Linked DNA regions of Homo sapiens: all the other regions are linked to region 2. The links are contacts of gene promoters, found by promoter capture Hi-C in human tissues and cell types (Jung and others, 2019). All regions are on one chromosome and are shown on one strand. The core of a region is centred on a gene start or on the middle of the fragment in contact, and the rest is flanking DNA. Distances in the headings are between cores, read along the strand shown.

What was found. Contacts are between HindIII fragments. The study calls those that stand out against the background at their distance.
Region 1: a contact is called between a fragment that was not itself captured here and the fragment with the promoter of HEPACAM2 in region 2, in 1 of the 25 tissues and cell types used here (aorta).
Region 3: a contact is called between a fragment that was not itself captured here and the fragment with the promoter of HEPACAM2 in region 2, in 1 of the 25 tissues and cell types used here (lymphoblastoid cells).

Annotation. Positions count from the first base shown.
Region 1 is chr7:92,899,319-92,902,018 of GRCh38, reverse strand. The region is part of intron 1 of CDK6-AS1 (CDK6 antisense RNA 1); the gene reads right to left. Among named protein-coding and RNA genes, the nearest start is that of CDK6, 64 kb to the right of the region's middle. The HindIII fragment of the contact is 6,286 bases long and covers 1-2,700 here.
Region 2 is chr7:93,225,084-93,227,783 of GRCh38, reverse strand. HEPACAM2 (HEPACAM family member 2) reads left to right here and starts at 1,315. Exons shown (of 10, transcript NM_001039372.4): 1 at 1,315-1,416. The coding sequence starts at 1,338. The HindIII fragment of the contact is 8,113 bases long and covers 1-2,700 here.
Region 3 is chr7:93,551,499-93,554,198 of GRCh38, reverse strand. The region is part of intron 2 of CALCR (calcitonin receptor); the gene reads left to right. All of the region lies in intron 2 of LOC105375400 (a long non-coding RNA gene), which reads right to left. Among named protein-coding and RNA genes, the nearest start is that of CALCR, 22 kb to the left of the region's middle. The HindIII fragment of the contact is 5,748 bases long and covers 1-2,700 here.

The DNA of each region.
Region 1 (2,700 bases), core at 53-2,552, 330 kb after region 2:
TATCTGTATGTGTACACACACATCTCTATCTTTCTATACATGTATCTATCTATCTGCATCTATATCTGTCTATATATATGTGTATGTGTGTGTGTGTGTGTGTGTGTATTTAAATTTGAATTTGTATTTATAATTATTCTCCCTGCTGGTTCTGCTTCTCTGGTTGAACCCTGACTGATACAGTATAATATTTTTACATAGTCAATCTATCAATATTCTCATTTATAGCTGCTGGGTTTTGTGTCTTGCTGACTTAGTCTTCATATAAATATGTTTGTAAGTCATGATTATACAGAATTGGTAGTAATGGCTAAAGATTGAAAAGCCCCTTCACTCCTCTCTACTATTTCTTCCCCATCTAGAAGTAACCATTGTTAATAAGTTGGACTATATTTGTCAAGCCTATTTTTTATACAAAAAAATAGCCCGTGTGTGTGTGTGTGTGTGTGTGTGTGTGTGTGTGTAAAAGTCTACAAAGTGAGCTGGAAGAACACATCCCAACTTAATGACAATGATTACATGTAAATGAGAAAAAAGTGGTAGACAGAAGTGAAAAGGGACTTTCAGCATTTTGTACTTTTGATTGTCTAAATCTTAGATAATGAGAATCTATTTGTATTTAAGTGATTTTTATATTAAAAAAACTTCATAAAAATTATTAATAATGATTCCATGATTCCAATATTTCAAATTTGGGTAAGCCAAGAGATAATGGTTCCATTGAGATAAATAAAAATGCCAAAAACCAGATGTTTACTTCAAGAATTACAAACTCCAAAGCCATGCTTAAATGCATAATAAAAGACAATAGGAAGATTGAATGTGGTGTCTAGCTAGGAGCACATGCTTGACCTAACTTTCAAAAGTCTACGGACAAATAAAACATATCTACAGGCCAAATTTGGCTTTTGGGCCATAGCTGTGTAACCCTTCCAACGATATAGGAAAAGAAGAGGTTGATTTCAAATCAAGAACGATAGAATTTGAGCCTTAGAGATGTTTTTAAAATCATAAAAGCTAAGACTCCAGTAAAAACAACAGCATAATTTGGTAAGAACTTGTTCCTTTTGAAAGGTGTATTATAGATACACACTCATGTTGTTTAAGAATTTCATCCTATTCTGATTTAATTTTGGCTGAAGGGCTGGAGCAATACAAAATTCTCTTCATCTACTTTCAGATAAATAGGAAGAGACACATTTCTCATAAAGACAATTTAGTAAGAGCTCTATTAAGTTTAGGAAACTGAGAAATGGCAAATTTTGAATTTTACAGTGTGACATTTAATAGAAGCTTCCATTAGAAATACCATACTTAATATCAAATGTTTTTTTTTAAAAATGAGGGACAGCAACATGGCCAGGACTCAGCATTTATCTCACACTTGTCAAGGTATAACTGTTGAGCAGACACTGTAATGGATAACAGCCCACAAATGTTTACAGACCAAAAATTAATCAATGTAATACATCATATCAATACAATAAAGAACAAAACATGATCATCTCACATGATCATCTCAATAGAAAAGGGAAACATTTCACACAATGCAAGACTAAAATATTGTTTATAAAAAACTAGGAATGGAAGGGAACTTTCTCAGCTTGATAAAGTGCATATATGAAAAACCCACAGTTAATACATGTTGAGCATCCCAAATCTGAAAGTCCAAAATCCAAAATGCCCTAAAATCCAAAGCTTTTTGAGTGCTGACATCACGCTCAAAGGAAATGTTCACTGGATCATTTCAAATTTTTGGTTTTTTTATTTGGGATATTCAACTGGTAAGTACAATGCAAATATACCAAAATCCAAAAAAACAACCACCAAATCCAGAACACTTCTGATCCCAACTAGTTCAGGTAAGGTATATACAACTTGTGTAATACATAAGGGTGAAGAACTGAATGTTTTTCCCCTAAGATCAGGAACAAGACAAGAGTGATTATTCTCACTACTTCCATTTAACATTATACAAGGTGAGCCAATTAGGGGAGAAAATGAAATGAAAGCAATAAAATTTGAAAGAAAGAAGTAAAATATATGTATACATGACATGATTAAGTCATCATGATTCAGAAAATCCTAGATAATCTAGCAAAAACTATTCAAACTAATAAGTTTTGCAATGCTGCAGGATACAAGATCATTATACAAAAATCAATTGTATTTCTACACACTTGCACTGAACAATCCAAAATGAAATAAAGAAAATAATTTCATTTCTTATAGCATCAAAAATAATAAAATATTTACAAATATATTTAACAAAGGAAGTGAAAAACTTGTGTTCTGGAAAGTATAAAATATTATTGAAAGAAATTAAAGACAACCTAAATAAATGGAAAGACATACCATTTTCATAGATCAGATACCATGAATACACCCATGTTCATGGGCAATATTTCCCAAACTGATCTACAGATTCAACTCAACTATTCAAACCATTCAATGGACAAAGAATAGACTTTGTAGCAAATGGTGCTGAACCCTTGCCTCACACTATGTAGAAAAATTCACACAAAATAGATCAAAGACCTCACTGTAAGAACTACTATAGTTTCATAAAACTAGTTTACAAAATGAAAACTATAAAACTCTTAAAAGAAAATATCAGCTTAAACCTTTATAACCTTGAGTAAGAGAAAAGTTTCATAGATATGACACTAAAAGTACAAGCAACAAAGAAACACATGGATA
Region 2 (2,700 bases), core at 66-2,565:
TAAGGAGATAAGTGCTGCAATAGATGTGTGTACCAGATTTAGAGACAGTGCAGAGAAAGTTGTGGCATTGTTATTATTTTGCAGGGAGGTGGGGGAAGCATGAGGAGCTCTTGCCATTTTTCTGAAGCATGGAGGGATCTGAAAGTGACTGATCTCTGAAGAGGACTTCGTTTTCCCAATAGTCACTTACTTTCTTTGCTTATAGAAGTCCTTCTAGAAGAGTTCAGAGCCCTAATGCAAAGAGTGTTTCCAAACTTGGATTCCAAAGTTACTATCATTCCTTTTTTACTTTAATTATGCTTGAGGTATAGTCTTCCTTCCCCTCTTATCATTGAACTTCTTCAGTGGGCCTTTACTGTTAAAACTGATGCATGCAAGGAATTTTCCTTGATTTGATGATTTGATGCAGATTTGGATATATCCTTAACATTTTATATAACAAGGCTAGAACCAGAGCCTTCTTGCAAATAGGGGTTAACTAATAACTTAGTAAATTAAGCGGACATGCTTAGACTATCTGCTGCCATGACAATGGAGAGACCAGGTTGAAAACCTGTAACCTGGACACTGCAGTAGAGGTAAGATCTTTTCTAGATCATTGGTTCACTTCCTCTATGCATCAGCTGTGAAAATGTGGCCTCAGATACTATCTCCTGGCATGCACTTTTCATTATAATTATGCATGGTCCATGCCTCAGTCCCAGTTGGAAACACACCTGTGATTTGCTTTTAAAAATAAGATGAATTCAAAGATTAAATGAAATCAGTCATTGTAATAGGAAACACTGCATAGAAAAAATACGTTTTAAATATATTCTGGATCTCTCTTTTGATTCATTGGTAGAATTTTTACATGTTAGTGACTTCATGAAGATTTATAACTGTTTAGCAGATACATGAGCTACTTCAATTTTCATATAATTTTTTTTAATTTTAAAATAATAATGGCATAGTTCTGCATGATAGAAAACCAGCTTTTGTTTTTAAGGAAATCTCACAATATTCTTTCATTATGAAAACATGCCATTTTTCAGTAAAGTCACGCAAAAGGATGTTTTCCTTCATGTGATTTTTTAATAACTAAGTATAATTTATGAAATATATAGACAATTACTGGTAGTTGCTAAGAAACTCTTCTGAAAGCCATAAGCCTGTATTCTTGCTAAGCACATAACAGGTGTTCCCACTCCCTGTGTCCTTTGTATACACATTCATTCTGTATTCAAATCACAGAAGCAAGAGGCAAGATAGGGTCTGTTACCTCACTGCTAATTTCCCTAGCAAATAAACCAGCAGCTGCTGGTCCAAGTTACCACTGAGAACAGGGCACTGCATGCATGGGACAGGATGCTTTCATGGAGCCCTTCGGTGACACACTTGGGGTCTTTCAGTGCAAAATATACCTCCTTCTCTTCGGTAAGGCCCTGTGTGAATTGTGTTTTAGCTGTTTGTTAGGTTTTTTTTTTTTAATTGTGGACATAAGGTAAATATTTGCTTTAGGCTGTAGATGCATTCAGATAATTGAAGAGCAGGTCAGAACCTTTTAACAATAACACACTGTTACAGCAAAGAAGCAGGAACATTTAAGAGAAATGAGTTTCAATAAATAGATTGTTATTGTTTTCTTGGAACAACAATTATTGTCATAGCACTCATTAAGATAATTCAGATATTTTTAAAAGATAATGAATTTCTTCTTTTAGAGTTTACATATAGGTTCAATAGTCTTTAATGCATTTATTTCAGCAAATATTCTAATAGGCCATGAAATTGTGACCACTTAGAGTGAAACTACAAATAATTTACGAAAATTGTTTTCTTTTTAATTAAAGATATTGTTGCAAACTGTTTACTGCTTCGTTTTAAGTTATCTGTCTCATCTTATGAAATATGGAAGAAAGGTAAGATTCCAAACTAACAAAAAAATTTCCTACACAAAAGGGAGAACGTATTTGAAAAGATTGTTACTCCAAAATGCCTTTAGCTTTTCTCTTTGCCCAATGGCTAGTCCTATTAAGAATTTTTTTCTACCTTAATATTTTCCCTCATTCTCCTCTTTATCTTTTGAGTTTAAAGGAGTCTCTTTCCAGCATTCCAACTGCTGTCTGTCAACATTATTTTCACCAGATGTTCTCATTTCCATTCTTCCTATTTATCAGTTTTAAAAGTCAAATCAATTTCTTGTTTTGTTTATATTCAACAGATAGGAGTTCAATTAAGGCTACATTTTTTAAAAATTAAGAACAGCTTAGCAAAATAAGCAATTTAACTTTTAGGCTTCTTCAGCTATTTAGAGCTTTACTTTCACTCCTATATTTTGTTAAAGTTTGCATTGTAAATGTTATTATTCAAATTCATACCTACTGTTGTACCTATCTCACACATTTGAAATGTACAGTTTGTAAATTTTTTTAAGTCTTTGAGTTTCCCAGAGTTGTGATTGTTCCAGTTATCACAGTATTTATGTTATCAAATTTAAGCCTATAATAGATTTTTGTTTTCTAAAATTTTTTGAAAAAGTAAATAATTATTATAACTGTCACTACCTTTGTGCATTTGTCTTCCTTTTGAAAGTATCCTGGGTCATCATCCCACTTATTTTTATATTTAAAACAGTAGGACTACTATCATTTTATAAGTGTTGTTTTTGAAACTGGCGTTAAGAAGAACTTAGAGACAATTTAGTTAAGGAATTCAACT
Region 3 (2,700 bases), core at 168-2,667, 330 kb before region 2:
CAACTTCTCATATAAAAAATAAACAGATAAAAGCAGTCTTGTGGTAATTTGACAAATCCACGTGAAAATGTCACACTAAAGCAAAAAGTGGAGTACATATAGCAATGGAAGGTTTAATCTCTGACCCTGACAAGTTTTACAGTTAAAGTTTAAATCCAGATTTCTTAAACAAACTAACAAAAGCAGAAATGACAAATAGGTTTCTTTTCATTTGTCTGCTCTAGATCTCTGCTTTGAGAAGGATGCTGAGGTCACATCTAGGTGCAGTGGGATTTAGTGACGTGTTAGAAGGCAATATCTATCATGGCAATACAGTGGGATAGCATGGATTTGTACCATGTAGTTACTATCCCTGCTTGCTTTTGGATCACACAGACATCCTTTTGTATAGTCAAATATGATATAATTTTGTGGAGAAGAAGACACTAACATTTGGTGGAAGAGTACAGAAGATTAATCTGAACCAAGTGCTTTTCAAAGCACTTCGCATGTACTCACTCATAGAATCATCATAACAACACTATAAATATATGCTGTTATTAGCCCCATTTTCCAAATGGGGACATTGAGGCACAGAAACCGTCAGTAACTTGCCCAAGTGATACAGCTAATAATGAGCAGAGCTTATTGACAGATCTGTCAGGAAGTCTGACCCCACTCTGTGTCTTTACCATTTGTATTAATCTGCCTCCAAAATTTGTTGTGCAAAAAAAAAAGGGTAAGTTTTCATTAACATCTTTCTATGGCATGCATTTTGTAAACCTAGCACCACAGAACGTTCATGTAACAAGTGATCTTGCTCATTATCTGGACCAAACTTCTGTCTGTTAAAGGATCCTGTCCTTAATACCCAGTACCTCCTCAGGATCTCCCAGCTCTTCCCTTGTTGAGCAGCTCTGGAAACTCTTTGACATATTGAACCAAAATCTCCCTACCTCTGATTTGCACCTTTGGTGGAGCAACACAAACCAATCTACACTGTCTTCCACAGAATGACAATCAACATCTTGTCAGTGAAATATCTCCACCATGGGTGAAATTCGATGAGAAAAGAGATAGCAGATTTTTAAAATAACCCATAATTGGATAAAAGTCATTTTATTTGAAAACTTTTTCCCTCTAAAATAACGTGATATATTTTGAAAGAAGAAGGTGTGAGGTCAGGTGTCCATTATGTAGCCAGACAGATGGATACGTTGTTGTTTTACCATTGCCATAGAAACAAGTGCTATGTTTATCTCATTCAGTGAGGAAGAATTTCTCGGGTCTTTCCCAAAAGTTGTGATATGTGCTACACTGAATATGGCCCACCATGTCTATCTGGACAAAATAAATCCCCTTTTTACCGGGGAGGAGTGCTACACAGGGAAGAGGGGAACTCTACTTGAGCATTTCTTCCTATGAGCTCTGTCAATTTCTTGTTATTTGAGATTCACAAATTCTCTTTAATATAACAATCTATTAATGTGCTATATTCATGTTTGGAGATAATGCTAATTGTCAAAGAAATTAGGCTTCTAGTTCTAACCTCTAGAGAACATGGGAAAAGACCAAAGAGGAGTAATTACAGAGATGTGGTTTAATATAAAGGTTTTATATCAAACCGGATTCAGCCATACTCTAGGCCATGAAAGTGGCTTTTGTAAAGACGGTGCTGAATAAAATATAGCCTATCAATGGGTTCACAAAGATCAGTATTTAACCTTAGTTTTAGTTGAAATCATATTTGTAGGCCCATTCATTTGCATACCAATAAAGCTGAATCTTAGCTTTAAATGACTTAATGTAAGACCTGAAACAGTGTGGCCTTGGAAAGGGCATCACATAAACTATTAGGACACCCGAGTTCCATCTCCAGCTCTGCCAACAGGTTTTGTGACTTTGGTAAGCTCATAATATTTACTGAGCAACTGTTTGGTTTTGAGAAGTTGAGCTGGGCATTTTACCTTATTTAATTTTCATAGCCACTTTCTAAGTTAGGTAATACATTTACCTTGTACAGATGAGAAAATTTAGTCTGAAGGGCTAATGAACAATGCCCAAGATCACTCAGCTGATAAATGGCAAGGCTAGAATGTGATGACTCAAGCTTTTCTCTGCATTAAACTATTCCTATCACTTCACCTCCTGAGTTTTAGTGTGTATCTTTGTAGCCACGAGGTCGACATGCTCTGCACATTCTTTGCCACATTGACATTCTTTGATTTCAGGGTAAATATTTCAATATAATGTCCTGTTCTTTTTATTATGATTATCCATTTCACTGACTGCTGACAGACCTTTTTCTTAATTTGTGTCATCTATATTGAAAATATATCTCAATCATATTTACCAAAATATGAAATCTCTACTTAAATGGGCTTAACACACTGTATCAGCAGGATATAATTTCACATTTGTGTTATCTGTAAAATAAAGCAAAATACTGCAGAATTTGACTCCTACAGTCCAAAACTACAGATACCTTTGCTGACAGTAGAGGTCACTGGCACCTTCCATCCTCTCCATCCAGGAGATGCTCCCCACAAAGGGTGGTTCTTAAATTTGTTTCCCAAAGGGTCAGGGGATGGTAGACCAGAAGCTCCTACAAGATTTTACCAAATTCCTCTTTACTTTTCCTGTCACTTTTGACCTGGTGCCTACAAATAAAGTTACTATCGTATTTGTGGAAATGGATCCCAAAATAACTGGCACTAAAAA